Regions from separate parts of the Homo sapiens genome. Here regions 1, 2 and 4 are each linked to region 3. Evidence: promoter capture Hi-C in 16 types of primary human blood cells and fetal thymus (Javierre and others, 2016). All regions are on one chromosome and are shown on one strand. The core of a region is centred on a gene start or on the middle of the fragment in contact, and the rest is flanking DNA. Distances in the headings are between cores, read along the strand shown.

Evidence for each region. The method cuts DNA at HindIII sites, captures the fragments that hold promoters and counts their contacts. A CHiCAGO score of 5 or more calls a contact.
Region 1: a contact is called between a fragment that was not itself captured here and the fragment with the promoter of CHST6 in region 3, in 1 of 17 cell types (total B cells). The highest score is 5.5, in total B cells.
Region 2: a contact is called between the fragment with the promoter of CTRB2 here and the fragment with the promoter of CHST6 in region 3, in 6 of 17 cell types (endothelial precursors, M1 macrophages, M0 macrophages and 3 more). The highest score is 9.8, in endothelial precursors.
Region 4: a contact is called between a fragment that was not itself captured here and the fragment with the promoter of CHST6 in region 3, in 6 of 17 cell types (total CD4 T cells, naive CD8 T cells, total CD8 T cells and 3 more). The highest score is 9.3, in total CD4 T cells.

The regions. Positions count from the first base shown.
Region 1 is chr16:75,776,581-75,779,924 of GRCh38, reverse strand. All of the region lies in intron 2 of LOC105371348 (a long non-coding RNA gene), which reads right to left. Among named protein-coding and RNA genes, the nearest start is that of CPHXL, 52 kb to the right of the region's middle. The HindIII fragment of the contact is 9,840 bases long and covers 1-3,344 here.
Region 2 is chr16:75,204,996-75,208,730 of GRCh38, reverse strand. It overlaps CTRB2 (chymotrypsinogen B2), which reads left to right and starts at 1,570. Exons shown (of 7, transcript NM_001025200.4): 1 at 1,570-1,641; 2 at 2,538-2,641; 3 at 2,739-2,818; 4 at 2,911-2,989; 5 at 3,218-3,398. The coding sequence starts at 1,590. RefSeq lists an enhancer at 1-88 and a silencer at 1,761-1,980. The HindIII fragment of the contact is 10,617 bases long and covers 1-3,735 here.
Region 3 is chr16:75,493,792-75,497,275 of GRCh38, reverse strand. It overlaps CHST6 (carbohydrate sulfotransferase 6), which reads left to right and starts at 1,835. Exons shown (of 3, transcript NM_021615.5): 1 at 1,835-2,336. RefSeq lists a silencer at 1,632-1,961 and an enhancer at 2,262-2,441. The HindIII fragment of the contact is 1,836 bases long and covers 496-2,331 here.
Region 4 is chr16:75,756,075-75,759,827 of GRCh38, reverse strand. No RefSeq gene overlaps it. Among named protein-coding and RNA genes, the nearest start is that of CPHXL, 31 kb to the right of the region's middle. RefSeq lists an enhancer at 1,515-1,564. The HindIII fragment of the contact is 932 bases long and covers 1,930-2,861 here.

The DNA.
Region 1 (3,344 bases), core at 485-2,984, 280 kb before region 3:
GTCCGGTGTTCAAGTCCCACCTCTGGAGTCAAGTCCTGCCTCCTACCTTAAGATGATATCTCATTGTGGTTTTGATTTCAATTTCTCTAATGATCAATGATGGTTATTTTTAATATACTCATTGGTCATTTTTATGTCTTCTTTTCAGAAATGTCTGTTCAGATCTTTTTCTTATTTTTTAATTGGATTTTGTATTCTTGCTATTGAGTTTTTCTAGTTCCTTATATATTCTGGTTGTTAATCCTAGTCAGATGCATAGTTTGCAAATATTTTCCCCCATTCTGTGGGTTATCTCTTCGTTGTGTTGACTGTTTCTTTTGCTGCTTTTTAGTTTGATGTAGTCCCATTTGTCTATTTTTGCTTTTGTTGCCTGTGCTTTTGAAGTCTTACACAAAAAAATATTTGCCCAGATCAATGTCCTGGAGCATTTCCTCAAAGTTTTCTTCTGGTAGTTTTATAGTTTTGGGTCTTATATTGAGGTCTTCAATCCATTTTGATTTTATTTCTGTATAGAGTGACAGACAGGGGTCTGCTTTCATTCTTCTGCATATGGCTATCCAGTTTTCCCAAGACCATTTATTGAGAAGACTGTCCTTTCCCCACTATATCTTCTTTGTTGAAAATGAGTTGATTATAGGCCAGGTGCGGTGTCTCACACCTGTAATCCCAGCACTTTGAGAGGCCAAGGCAGATGGATCGCATGAGGCCAGGAGTTCAAGACAAGCCTGGCCAACATGACAAAACACCATGTCTACTAATGATACAAAAATTAGCCGGGCATGGTGTTACAAGCCTGTAGTCCCAGCTACTCAGGAGACTGAGGCACAAGAATCACATGAACCCACAAGGCAGAGGTTGTAGTGAGCCGAGATCACCCCTCTGCACTCCAGTCTGGGCAACAGAATGAGACTGTCTCATTTAAAAAAAGAAAAAAAAAAGGAAAGAAAGAGAAAGAAAGAAAGAAAGAAAGAAAGAAAGAAAGAAAGAAAGAAAGAAAGAAAGAAAAAAAATGAGTTGGCTGTAAATATATGGGGTTATATCTGAATTCTCTATTCTGTTCCATTCTTCCATGTGTCTGTTTTTATTCCAGTACCAAGATGTTTTTATTAAGATAGCTTTCTAGTATATTTTGAAGTCAGATAATATGATGCCTCTAGCTTTGTTCTTTTTGATCAGGATTGCTTTGGCTATTCGGGGTCTTTTGTAGTTCTATGTATATTTTAGCAGTTTTTTTCTATTTCTGTGAAGAATGTCGTTGATATTTTCATAGAGATTGCATTGAATCTGTAAATGGCTTTGGGTAGTATTGCCATGTTAACAATATTAATTCTTCCAATCCATGAGCATGAACTCTCCTTCCTTTTTTGTGTCCTCTTCAATTTTTCTATCACTCTTTTATACTTTTTCTTGTATAGATCTTTCACTTGACTAAATTGATTCCTAGGTATTTTATATTCTTTGTAGCTATTGTAAATGGAATTGTTTTCTTATTTTCTTTTTCAGATTACTCACTGTTGTCATACATAAATGCTCCTGGTTTTGTATGATTTTGTATCCTGCAGCTATGCTGAATGCATTTATCAGTTCTAACACTTTTTCAGTGGAGTCTTTTGGTTTTTTCTAAATATAAGATCATGTCATCTGTGAATAAGGCTAATTTGACTTCTTCTTTTCTAATTTGGATGCCCTCGATTTTTTTCTCTTGCCTGATTGCTCTAGCCAGGACTTCCAGTATTATGGTGAATTAAAGTGGTGAAAGTAAGCATCCCTGTCTTCTTCCAGATCTTAAAGGAAAGGCTTTCAATTTTTCCCCATTCAGTACATTAGCTGTGGGTCTGTCACATATGCCCTTGATTATTTTGAGGTATGTTCCTTCTATAATCAGTTTTTTTGAGGACTTTTGTCATGAAAAATATATAGATTTTTTTTTCGTTTTTCCTTTTCTTTTCCTTTATTTTTATTTTTATTTTTTTATTTTGTTTTATTTTTTTTTTTGAGACAGGGTCTGGCTCTATCGCCCAGGCTGGAGTGCAGTGGTACGATCACAGCTCACTACAGCTTCAACTTCCTGGGCTCATGCAATCATCCCACCTCAGCCTCCCAAGTAGCTGGGACTGCAGGCCCTTGCCACCACACTCGGCTAATTCTTGTCTTTTTTGTAGAGACAAGGTTTCACTGTATTGCCCAGGCTGGTTTGGAACTCCTGGGCTCAAGCAATCTGCCCTCCTCGGCCTCCCAAAATGCTGGGATTACAGGTGTGAGCCACTGTGCCTGGTGGGATGTAGAATTTTATCAAATGCTTTTTTGACATCTATTGAAGTGATCATATGGGTTTTGTTCTTGGTTCTATTAATGTGAAGTATCATGTTTATTGATTTGCATATGTTGAGCCATACTTACATCCATAGGATGAATCCCATTTGGTCATGATGAATGATCTTTTTAATGTGTGGTTGAATTTGGTTTGCTAGTATTTTGTTGAGAATGTTTATATCTACATTCATCAGTGATATTGGCCTGTAGTTTTCTTTTTTTGTCATGTCCTTGTCTGGTTTTGGTATCAGGTTAATGTCCACCTCATAGAATGAGTTTGGAAGTGTTCTCTCCACTTCAATTTTTTTGAAGAGTTTGAGTAGAAGTGGTATTAGTTACTCTTTAAATGTGTGGTAGAATTCAGCAGCGAAGACATCAGGTACTGGGCTTTTCTTTTATAGGAGACTCTTTTTTTTTTTTTTTTTTTTTTTTGAGACGGAGTCTCACTCTGTCGCCCAGGCTGGAGTGCAGTGGCACGATCTCAGCTCACTGCCAGCTCCACCTCCCGGGTTCACGCCATTCTCCTGCCTCAGCCTCCTGAGTAGCTGGGACTACAGACGCCCGCCACCACGCCCGGCTAATTTATTTTTTGTATTTTTAGTAGAGACAGGTTTTCACCGTGTTAGCCAGGATGGTCTCGATCTCCTGACCTTGTGATCTGCCTGTCTCGGCCTCCCAAAGTGCTGGAATTACAGGCGTGAGTCACCACGCCTGGCCAATAGGAGACTTTTTATTATGGCTTCGATCTCATTACTTATCATTGGTTTGTTAAGGTTTTCCATTTCTTCATGGTTCAGTCTTGGTGGGTCAGGAATTTATCCATTTCTTTTAGATTTTTCCAATTTGTTCGCATATCATTCAGAATTGTCTCTAATGATTCTTTATATTTCTGTAGCCTCAGTTGTTATGTCTCCTTTTGTTGTTCCTAGTTTTATTTATTTGGGTCTTCTCTCTTTTTTTCTTAGTCTAGCTAAATGTTTGTCAATTTTATGTATCTTTTAAAACTTTCTTTCCAACTTTCCATTTTGTTG
Region 2 (3,735 bases), core at 321-2,820, 290 kb after region 3:
GCCACACGCAGGAATTTGTTGGTTTTGTTCAGCTGTTCCCGTGGGCCTGGTGGGCACTGGCTGGCAGGAAGAGCCCATGTGCATGCAGAGGTGGGTGCGTCTCATCCCGACCAGGCCATGCTCCGTCCTGCTGGTGCCCGCCAACCCCTCTGTCCTCAGACAATCTTCTAGAATGAGCGAAGGGCCTGAACAGGTGATTCACTCAAGAAAGAGGAATGTAGGGGCCCCGCCAGCGTGGATTGCATGCTTGGCCTGGTCCTGGTGCTCAAGAAGGCTCTTCCTTTTGTCATGGGACCCATACTCTAAGCATCCTCAATTACATACAGGATCAGAGAGGGCAAGTCATTTGCCCACGGCTCCACAGCTGCCTGACCCCACAACCCGTGCTGTAAACACACATGCTGCAGGCATCAGTGTGGTGGAATTGAAAACAGCCACGAGGCACCTTTTCCTGTGCATTTTGGGGAACTTGCCCTCCATCTGGCAGCCTCAATCCAAAATTTCTCCCTCCCCCGTTTCCCAGTTGCTGAGAAAGGGCTCCACCACCCATGCTGCCACCCGCACGAGGAACCAGGTGTCCCCGCCCATGCTCTGCCCTGAGGCTCAGCCTCCATCAGTTCTCATCAGGGCGATGCCAGGCCCCCAGGCCGGGCCCTAGGCCCAGTCTTGCCCTCTGATGCCACCTGCTCAGCTCCAGGGCCCAGGTGTGCTGGCGCCTGTGTGCAGGGGTGGCCCAGTGTGAGGACAGCAGGTAGCTACCCCTCCCCTGTACACAGCCCAAGTGACCAACACAGATGTCGACTGGGCCTTCACTGAGCCTTCTTAGCCATCCCCTGGGACCCGGCGAGCACCCGCACCCCAGCCTCTGGCTACACCATGGGGCACAGGCCTGCTCCCCCAGCCTCTCCTCTACTTGGTCACATTGCCCATTGGGTTTTTTTCTTTTTTTTTGTTTTTTTTCCTTTTTTGAGACAGTCTCACTGTCACAAGGCTGGAGTGTAGTGGCGCAATCTCGTCTCACTGCAACCTCCGCCTCCCGGGTTCACACCATTCTCCTGCCTCAGCCTCCCAAGTAGCTGGGAATACAGGTGTGCGCCACCACGCCTGGCTAATTTTTTGTATTTTTAGTAGAGACGGAGTTTCACCATGTTGGCCAGGATGGTCTTGATCTCTTGACCTCGTGATCCATCCGCCTCAGCCTCCCAAAGTGCTGGGATTACAGGCGTGAGCCACCATGCCCGGCCTGCCCAGGGGTTTTCAAACCATGAAAAGATCAAGTGAATTCTTTGCAGAGCACAAGAGACTCAGCTGGGGCTCAAACCCGGGGATGCTGGACTCAGCCCCTGGAGGCCCCTGCCCAAGCCTGGGCCTGGAGGAGAAAGGCAATGGTCGAAGGCCACCTGGGTTAGCCCGGCTCAGCTAAGGCCACAGCTGCTGCCATCCCAGGCTTCCTGGCCAGCCCTGCACCGACACATCTTGCCCACTCCCAGGGAAGGGATTATCGCCCCAAGGTCTCCAGATAACAGCAGGCACACAGGGCTATAACGGGGACCGGCAGACAGGCGTCCTACACCCCTGCCAGCGGCACCATGGCTTTCCTCTGGCTCCTCTCCTGCTGGGCCCTCCTGGGTACCACCTTCGGTGAGTGCCAGGCCCTGCGGAGGCCGAAGGGTTTTCTCCTCTCACTCCCAGCCCCGAGGCCAGCAAGAGGCAGCAGGGTCCCAGCTCCCAGTTCAGCTGTGCACCGCAGTGTGGGCCTGGGCGAGTCACCGGCTCCATCTCTGCCGTGGGCGCTGAGAGGTCAATGCCTCCCTCCCAGGCTCAGCTGCCGCCTCTGAGCTCAGGAGATGGGGAGTCCCGCTCCCCTTCCTCACCCCCAGCAGACCTGAGGCTCTCAGGGGAGGAGGCGGGGGGAGGAGGCAGGTGTCCGGGGGCTGCCCTGAGGCCTTCGGGAAACCCCCAAACAGTCAGCGGCCCCAGCACAGGTTTGGGTGGTGAATGTGTGGGCAGCTGGGGCTTGGCACCGTTCAGTCCAAACCTTTCAGAACCTCGAGCCTCACCCTCTTAAACTCCTGCTCACGGAGCACTTCCCGGGTGCCAGGCGCAGAGCTGGCGCTCTGCCTGCTCACTCTACCAAACCTGTGAGGTCAGAAACAGCGTGATCCCCACTTTGCTGATGGGGACACTGAGTGGCTTAGCTGGGCAGGGAGGGAGCCAGGTTCAAACCCACAGAGTCTGGCCTCCCAGACTGAGCGCCGGGGCTGCCGCCCACCGCACGCTCCACCTGTGTGACTTCTCCGAACTGAGGTGGGGCCAACACCCCATTCCTCAGCAGCCCACAGCCCAGTTCATTGGACTCAGTTGTACCTGGGGATTCCAGCTCTGCGGAGAGGAGAGCCAGGGCCAACTTCTCAGAGAAGGGGATGTGGGAGCCAGTCTAGGTCCCAGAGACTGGAAAAGAGTTGGGAGTGAGAGGAGGCTGGAGCATTAGGACCTGGGTGGGTGGTACCCACCCCTCAGCCCACTCCCGCCCCCAGGCTGCGGGGTCCCCGCCATCCACCCTGTGCTCAGCGGCCTGTCCAGGATCGTGAATGGGGAGGACGCCGTCCCCGGCTCCTGGCCCTGGCAGGTGTCCCTGCAGGTGAGGGGGTTCTGCAAGGTGGGGGGCACCCTGGGTAGGGGCCAGGCTGGGGGTGCCCCCGGGTGGGAGGTGCTGACCCTCCCCATCTTGCTCACAGGACAAAACCGGCTTCCACTTCTGCGGGGGCTCCCTCATCAGCGAGGACTGGGTGGTCACCGCTGCCCACTGCGGGGTCAGGTGAGGACCGGGCAGCCTTGGGCTCCGCTTCCAGCACCGGTCGGGTGGGAGGGGAGCAGGGCATGTTCTCTCACCCACAACGCTCTGCCCAGGACCTCCGACGTGGTCGTGGCTGGGGAGTTTGACCAGGGCTCTGACGAGGAGAACATCCAGGTCCTGAAGATCGCCAAGGTACCCAGGCCCCGTGCAGCAGAGGGCAGGGCCGTGGGCACGGGGGGAGACCCCTCGGCTGCTTCAGGGACAGGCGCCCAGTGGGGCCGGGCCGGCCTCGTGATTCCCATTCCGGCCCTGGGGATGGACTGCTCCTTAACGGGCACCAGGGAAGGAGTCTGTCCTCGAAGCCTGCAGGTCCTGCCTCCTCCCAGGGCCTCACCCCGGCACTCTGGCCCCCACCCCCAGGTCTTCAAGAACCCCAAGTTCAGCATTCTGACCGTGAACAATGACATCACCCTGCTGAAGCTGGCCACACCTGCCCGCTTCTCCCAGACAGTGTCCGCCGTGTGCCTGCCCAGCGCCGACGACGACTTCCCCGCGGGGACACTGTGTGCCACCACAGGCTGGGGCAAGACCAAGTACAACGGTGAGGGGCCGCGGGGCTGCCTCTGGGGTCTGGGCTGCCTGGCCGTGGAGTCCCCCCGTGACCGTTTGGCTCTAAATTCCAACACGCTCCTAACTGCCCGTTCGTTATTGAAAATCTTCTGAATTTAAAATCCCCCAAATGCAAATAAAATCCAGGTCGGATCATGAGGAGCCTGCACAGGGAGCTTCTGAGCAGCGCCCGGCCGGGTGAGCCCTGCCCTGGCTGACCTGCCTGGAGTCGCAGCGTGGGGCTCCCACCCGGGCAGGGCCGAGGCCCCCTTGTCCCACAGGCGCTTCTGAGGCTCCAGGGGCCGTACCCAACATCGTGGTGATGGTGC
Region 3 (3,484 bases), core at 586-3,085:
GGCCAATCCCCTACCCAGAGTTATGGTTGGCCTTCTGGCACACATCTTTCTATCCCATACACTATTTCTAACTTTTTAAAAATCATGAACAGGCCGGGCACGGTGGCTCATGCCTGTAATCCGAGCACTTTGGGAGACAGAGGCGGGCAGATCACATCTGAGCTCAGGAGTTCGAGACCAGCCTGGACAACATGGTGAAACCCTGTCTCTACTAAAAGTACAAAAATTAGCCTGGCGTGGTGGTGGGCACCTGTAATCCCAGCTATTCAGGAGGCTGAGGCAAGAGAATCACTTGAACTCGAGAGGCGGAGGTTGCAGTGAGCCTAGATCCTGCCATTGCACTCCAGCCTGGGCTACAAAAGTGAGACTCCATCTGAAAAAAAAATCAGTATCAAAATCATGAACAACACTTATATGAACCCTGTACATAAATCCTTGTTTCTGGTTTATTTCCTTAAGATAGCTCCTAGAAAGGAATTACCAATCCGAAAAGCTTACGACCATTGTCAAGAATCTTAATTCATCTTGCCAAACCACAACCAGGAAGGACTGCTTATTTCTTCTCCCAGCAGCAGGGAGTTCTTGATTAAGATCCCATCACTAATTTGACAAGACCTAGAAATGCTTCATCCTTTTCAGGTGCCTGGGCTCTGCCCTGTTATTTGTAAAGGGGATTTTTTTTTTTTTTTTTTTTGAAACAGTTTCGCTCTGTCGCCCAGGCTGGAGTGCAGTGGTGCAATCTCAGCTCACTGCAACCTCCGCTTCCTGGGCTCAAGCAGTTCTCCTGCCTTAGCCTCCTGAGTAGCTAGGATTACAGGTGCCTGCCACCACGCCCGGCTAATTTTTGTATTTTTAGTAGAGACGGGGTTTCACCCTGTTGGCCAGGCTGGTCTCGAACTCCTGACCTCGTGATCCACCCACTACGGCCCCCCAAAGTGCTGGGATTACAGGCGTGAGACACCGCGCCTGGCCGGATTTTTTTTTTTTTTTTTTGCGAGGGAGTCTCGCTTTGTCGCCCAGGCTGGAGTGCAGTGGTGCGATCTCGGCTCACTGCAAGCTCCGCCTCCCGGGTTCACGCCATTCTCCTGCCTCAGCCTCCCGAGTAGCTGGGACTACAGGTGCCCGCCACCAGGCCTGGCTAATTTTTTTGTATTTTTAGTAGAGACGGGGTTTCACTGTGTTAGCCAGGATGATTTCGATCTCCTGACCTCGTGATCCGCCCGCCTCGGCCTCCCAAAGTGCTGGGATTACAGGCGTGAGCCACCGCGCCCAGCCCTGGCCGGAAATATCTTATTTATTGAAACGTATCATGTCTTTATCTGGACCTGCTATGAACCTGCGCCTCTGGGCCTAGGCTAGGGCAGGGAATGCGCAGGAGGAGGGGAAAAGCTGCGGACCCAGCTCCTAAGGCCACCTGGTCTCTCCGCTCTTCCCAGTTGGGACACTGCACCGGGTCCATGTGTCATCCAGGTGCCGTGGCCTTGGGAAGGGTTTGGATTCCAAGTCACCTCGCCGCAAGGATGCCCCCGAGAGTGAGGAGGGTCAAGATTAAGATTCGACTTCCTTCACTAGGGCCTTTGTCCTCCCAGGAGCCCCCCTTCTCTGGGGATTTGGGGTGGGGTGGGGTACAACGTTCCTCTGTAGTCAGATGAGAGGTGACTCTGCCAGCGCCCTTTGACATTCTGGGCTAAAAGTTGAGCCTCTCAGAGCCCCAGCCCACCTGGGCCCTCCTGCCCCGCCCTCGGCCGGCGCCCCTCCCCCGAGGCGTGGCCCCTCGGTCGGGGGTGGGCCAACCGGCTCCTTCCTTCCCCCACGGCGCTAGCTCCCGCTGGCCACCTCGGGACCGCAGCCACGTCTGAAAGCGCCTCATTGTGTGCGCTCGGGCGGGCTGCACCGGGCAGCGCCGAGGGTTGCCGGCCGGCGCGCGGGGAGTAGAGGGCGCGGGCCGCAGTGCCGGGTTCCAGAGGGAGCTCTGCGCCGGGTCCTTCCCTGTGGTAGCCCCAGGACACCCCCAGCCTCAACATCCCATTCTGGGACTCCTGCCCTGTTCCCACATTCGTTCTACCTCGAGTCTCCAGGAGCTTCCAGTGGCTTGGTCACCGCCAACTCTCGTCCATGCCTCTTAGAGCCCCTTTCCCGGCCTCACCGGGTGTCGCTTAATAGTCTTGGGACCTTAAGGAGCAAGTCAGCCCCTGCGGACCCTCCCAGTGAAGAGAAAGAGCTGGCTGTGCGGTGGAATTTGGAAGAGACGACGTTTGGGAGCCTTTGCTGAGTCCAGGGAGAGAGGCGTCCCCCACCGTGCCGCTGCAGCTCGGGCAGAGCCGCCAAGCTTTGGGGTACGTTGGTTCTTCATTCTCCGCGGGGGATGTCCCCACACTCGGGTCGGCTGGGGGCCGGGCTGGTGGCACAGCTGGGGACGCTCCTCTGTCCTGCACCGGGGACCTGGGGTGGCGGGAAGAGCTGGGAGTGGCTTTTCCATCAGCAACGTGGAAAGGGCATCGCCGCTGTTGGCGCCGGTTTGGAAGTGTCTTGCTGGGGCTTCGGCTGCGCAGGAGAATCCTCACTGCGAGGGGAGAACCCCTTTTGTCTCGATACTTGAGTTTCAAAGGACATGACTTTCAAAAGCTCTCCAAGGGCTTTTTCCATAGAATTATTGAGAGACGGTAGCTTGGCGGGTTGATTTGGAACCAGACCCAGGGGAATTGGAGTCCTGCGTCACTGCTTCTGACGGCTTCATCTTGGGCTTCAGGACAGGCCCTCTGGGCCTCAGGACAGGTGCCTAGCAAATGTTGACTTTCCTTTCTCCTCCCTTTTTCACAGAGGCAAGGCAGTCAAGTTTCCCATTTTTGAGGATGGGAAAACTGAGGCCTGAAGAGCAGAAAGGAGTTGGCTGACTTAAACCCACAAGCGAGTAGGCCAAGTACCAGGGCCTCTGAGGGTGCTATGCTGCTCCGGGAGCTGGGGCTGGGCTCCTCTCCAGCCTGAGAGGCCGGAACTTTTCTGGCTTTGTTCTACAAACAGAGTCAACTGGAGTATAGAGAGCCAGAGAGTGACTTGCTCTAAGTCACACCCCTCACTGGTAGTAGAGACAGGATTTGAACCCAATCCGGCTTCAGAAGCCAAGCTTCTAAGGCCAGTCGCAGTGGTTCACGCCTGTAATCCCAGCACTTTGGGAGGCCGAGGCAGGTGGATCACCTGAGGTCAGGAGTTCAAGACCAGCCTGGCCAACATGGTGAAACCCCATCTCTACTAAAAATACAAAAATAAGCTGGGCATGGTGGTGAGTGCCTGTAATCCCAGCTACTTGGGAGGCTGAGGCAGAAGAATCACTTGAACCCAGGAGGCGGAGGTTGCAGTGAGCTGAGATTGCGGTACTTCACTCCAGTCTGGACAACAGCGAGACTCCATCTCAGAAAAAACACAAGCCAGGCCTCTAGCCATGACTTTCCAGCGTCTTCTGTTTTGTTTGCCCTTGTGGGGACCC
Region 4 (3,753 bases), core at 1,146-3,645, 260 kb before region 3:
GGTCAGGAGTTCAAGACCAGCCTGGCCAGCATGGTGAAACCCCTTCTCTACTAAAAATACAAAAATAAAAATAAAAAACTAGCCAGGCATGGTGGCACATGCCTGTAGTTCCAGCTTCTTGGGAGGCTGAGGCAGGAGAATTGTTTGAACCTGGCAGGCAGAGGTTGTAGTGAGCCGAGATTGTGCCACTGCACTCCAGCCTGGGTGACAGAGCGAGACTCCACCTCAAAAAAAAAAAAAAAAAAAAAAAAAAGAAAAGAAAAGAAAAGGAAATGCAACTTGTTGACTAGGTAGTGTGAAGATAAAATAAAAAAGAAAACGCATATCTGACACCAAAAAAAAATGAAGAAAATGTAAGGTTTTCAAAAATATACTTATGTCCCTGGTGTTGCAAATGGGGTATTTGGCAGAAGGACCACCAGGGCATCCTCCGGATGTCCACATCCCCAAAGAAAGAGGAGCACCTTCTACCATAAAAAAGAATAAGATCCCATCATTTGCAACAATATGGATGGAACCAGAGGTCGTCATGGTAAGTGAAATAAGCCAGGCACAGAAAGACAAACATTGCATGTTCTCACTTAATGTGGAATCTAAAAATCAAAATAATTGAACTCATGGACACAGAAAGTAGAAAGATGGTTACCAGAAGCTGCGAAGCTAGTGGGGAGTTGAGGGGAGGTGGCGAAGGTTAATGGTTACAAAAAAAATAGAATTAATAAGGCTTACTTTTGATTGGGTGACTATACTAAATAACAACTTAATTGTACATTTTAAAGTAAAGAGTGCAATTATATTGTTTATAACTCAAAAGATAAATGCTTGAGGGGATGGATACCCCATTCTCCATGATGTGCTTATTTCACATTGCATGTTTTTATCAAAACATCTCATGTATCCCATAAATTTATACAACTATTATGTACTCACAAAAAAATTTATAAAATAAATTAAAAATTAAAAAGTATTTTAAAGAGGAACACCAAGCTGTGACTCATGGGAGACCCAGCATTCCTCCCAAGGTCAGGATCCCAGGAGAAAGAGGCCTCCCTCAGGTCAACTCCACCCTGACTCAACAGATCCTTCACAAGGTCCACAAAGAGCATGACCTGATGCTCCTGGTGCTGGCTGCCACAGCTCAGGACCTTCCTTCTATTCAACATGACCACTAGACCACAGTTCCACTGGTCCAGGCCCTGGTCCTCCACCTCCTCCCCTTGTCAGACCTCAGATGTTTAGAGAGTCTTAAAGGGACAGGTCCTAAGAAAAGAAACCTCTGCTCTTCCCCTGTTCCAGAAATCCAGGACACAATTGCCTAGGAATCCTTTTCACCAGGGAGCTTCCCTGGCTGGACACATCCTCCCCATTCTCCTCTGGCCACAAGAAATGTTGGACACCAAGCACTGTCCACTCAGCCTGAAAACGAAAGTGAGTCACCCCTGGATAGATCCCACCTCCCACTGAGCATGCTACTACACAACCACAACCACAAGAGCCCTTTTCCTCTGCTCTACAATAATTTTCATATTTTCTATTTTAGTTTTATTGCCAGTGAGTGATTATATCATGTATAAGATGAAAAAAGACAGGATTCTGCTTCATAATGTGCTCTGCCTGTAGATTATTTCAATAACAACACTAATAAATTAATTACTTCCATTTTATTCTATTTGTAAGTAGCATAATTACAGTTTTATGTTGTTTTTAGCAAAGCCTCTAAAATAATTCAGGAAAACAGCAACTATTTTATTCCAACTTACTTTTTAAATAATTTTATTTGTTTCTCTATTGGTTTTATTGCCATAATTTAATGTATTAATAATTACACATCTCGAAAGAAGACCTGATAGGATTACAATGTTTAGGATTGCAGTTTTAAAATGTGCATGATGTAAATGCAAATTATATTTAACCCTGAGAGCACAAGCTTCCTTCTCACCCCAAACTCCCTTGGGGTGTCCACCGGGAAGCCACCTTAACCTTGACTCTGAAGGGTGTCTCAAGTGGGTTTACAGGTCAAAGCCAACACTCTTCAGTGAGGACCAGCCCCAGACAAAATTATGTGAACACTTTTCGAGGATCCCTGATTCTCTTCCCTGTTCTGTGTCCTCTCTGCCCCATCACAAGCCTGGACTGAGAGTTGGAAGGACCACAAAGGCTAAGTAATCAACCCTTTCCCTATCTCCTCCCTGAACTGTCTCACCTTTACGACTGTGAGGCCAATGTCAGCATTTAAAAACCATAAATAAGACCATGGGCCATGCTGCTCAAAGCCCTCCAGTGCCTACAACTTACACTGAGACTCAAATCTATGCTCTCCTGGCCCATGAGGTTGTCCATGCCCTGGTCCTTGCAGGTGTATACCTACCCAAGCACCTCCTGTGACTCCACTGACCACGATTTTGTCCAGTTAGCATGGCAGGCTCACTAAGTCTCAGAATTTTGCACTGGGCATTTCCTCTGCCGAGAATACCTTTACACCACATATGTGGTGGCTGCCTCCTTCATTTAGATACCAACTCTAATCACGTCTTCTTAAAGTGCCCTTTCCTGACCACTGTAGCTTAGTGATGGTGCTTCCTCATCCCTCTCTGATATGGTTAGGCTCTGTGATCCCACCCAAATCTCATCTTGAATCCCCCTTGTAATCCCCATAACCCCATGTGTTAAGAGAGAGACCAGGTGGAGGTCATTGATTCATGGGTGCAGTTTCCCCCATACTGTTCTCATGATAGTAAGTGAGTTCTCACGAGATCCGATGGTTTTATAAGTGGTAGTTCTTCCTGTATTCACTATCCCTCCTGCCACCTTGTGAAGAAGGTGCCTTGCTTCCCGTTCACCTTCCACCATGATTGTAAGCTTCCTGAGGCCTCCCCAGCCATGCAGAACTCAGAGTCAATTAAACCTCTTTCTTTTATAAATTACTCAGTCTTGAGCAGTTCTTTATAGCAGTATGAGAACGAACTAACACATTTTCTATTCCTTTGGTCCGATTTATTACCTCATAGCACTCATCCTTTCTGAATCATCATATTTCTGTGTTTATTCCTTGTGTATTTTCTGCATCATCCTCTGCACCATATGGGCTGGTGTGGCAGAGAGATTATCTTACTCCCTCTGGGTAGCACAAGACAGCCACTCATTAATGCAGTTTATATAGAAGGCAGGGGAAGCTCAAGTTTGTGGGAAAAGAGGAAAGAGGTGTTAAGGAAAAAGACATGGTAGGATAGCCACTGGCCTCCTGCACCACAGTGTTGAGCAGGGAAGACCTTTGGTGCTTTTGTGTTAATGGAAAAGCTACTGGTCCTCAGAGGCTGAGATTATTTCACTGACTTGGATTGTCCTTAACAATACAAAGGACCTGCAAGTGCTTAACAATCAGCTCTTCCCTGGGTGTCATCGATAATATTCCTTAGGCCCACAACTCACAAAACACAGGATTCCTCTCCCCATCCCATTTATAAAACTGGACTCGGGGTTGGAAAAGACCTCAGACACCAAGCTGCCAGCCTTCCTGTGTTGCCCCCTCTGATATGGTTTGGCTCTGTGTCCCCACCCAGATCTCATCTCAAATTGTAATCCCCATGTGTTGAGGGAGGTAAGTGATTGGATTATAGGGGCAGTTTTCCCCATGCTGTTCTTGTGATAGTGAATAGATTCTCACTAGATCCAATGGTTTTATAAATGGTAGTTTTTCCTACACTCATACATACTCTCTCTCACCTGCTACCATGTAAGAAGTGCCTGCTTCCC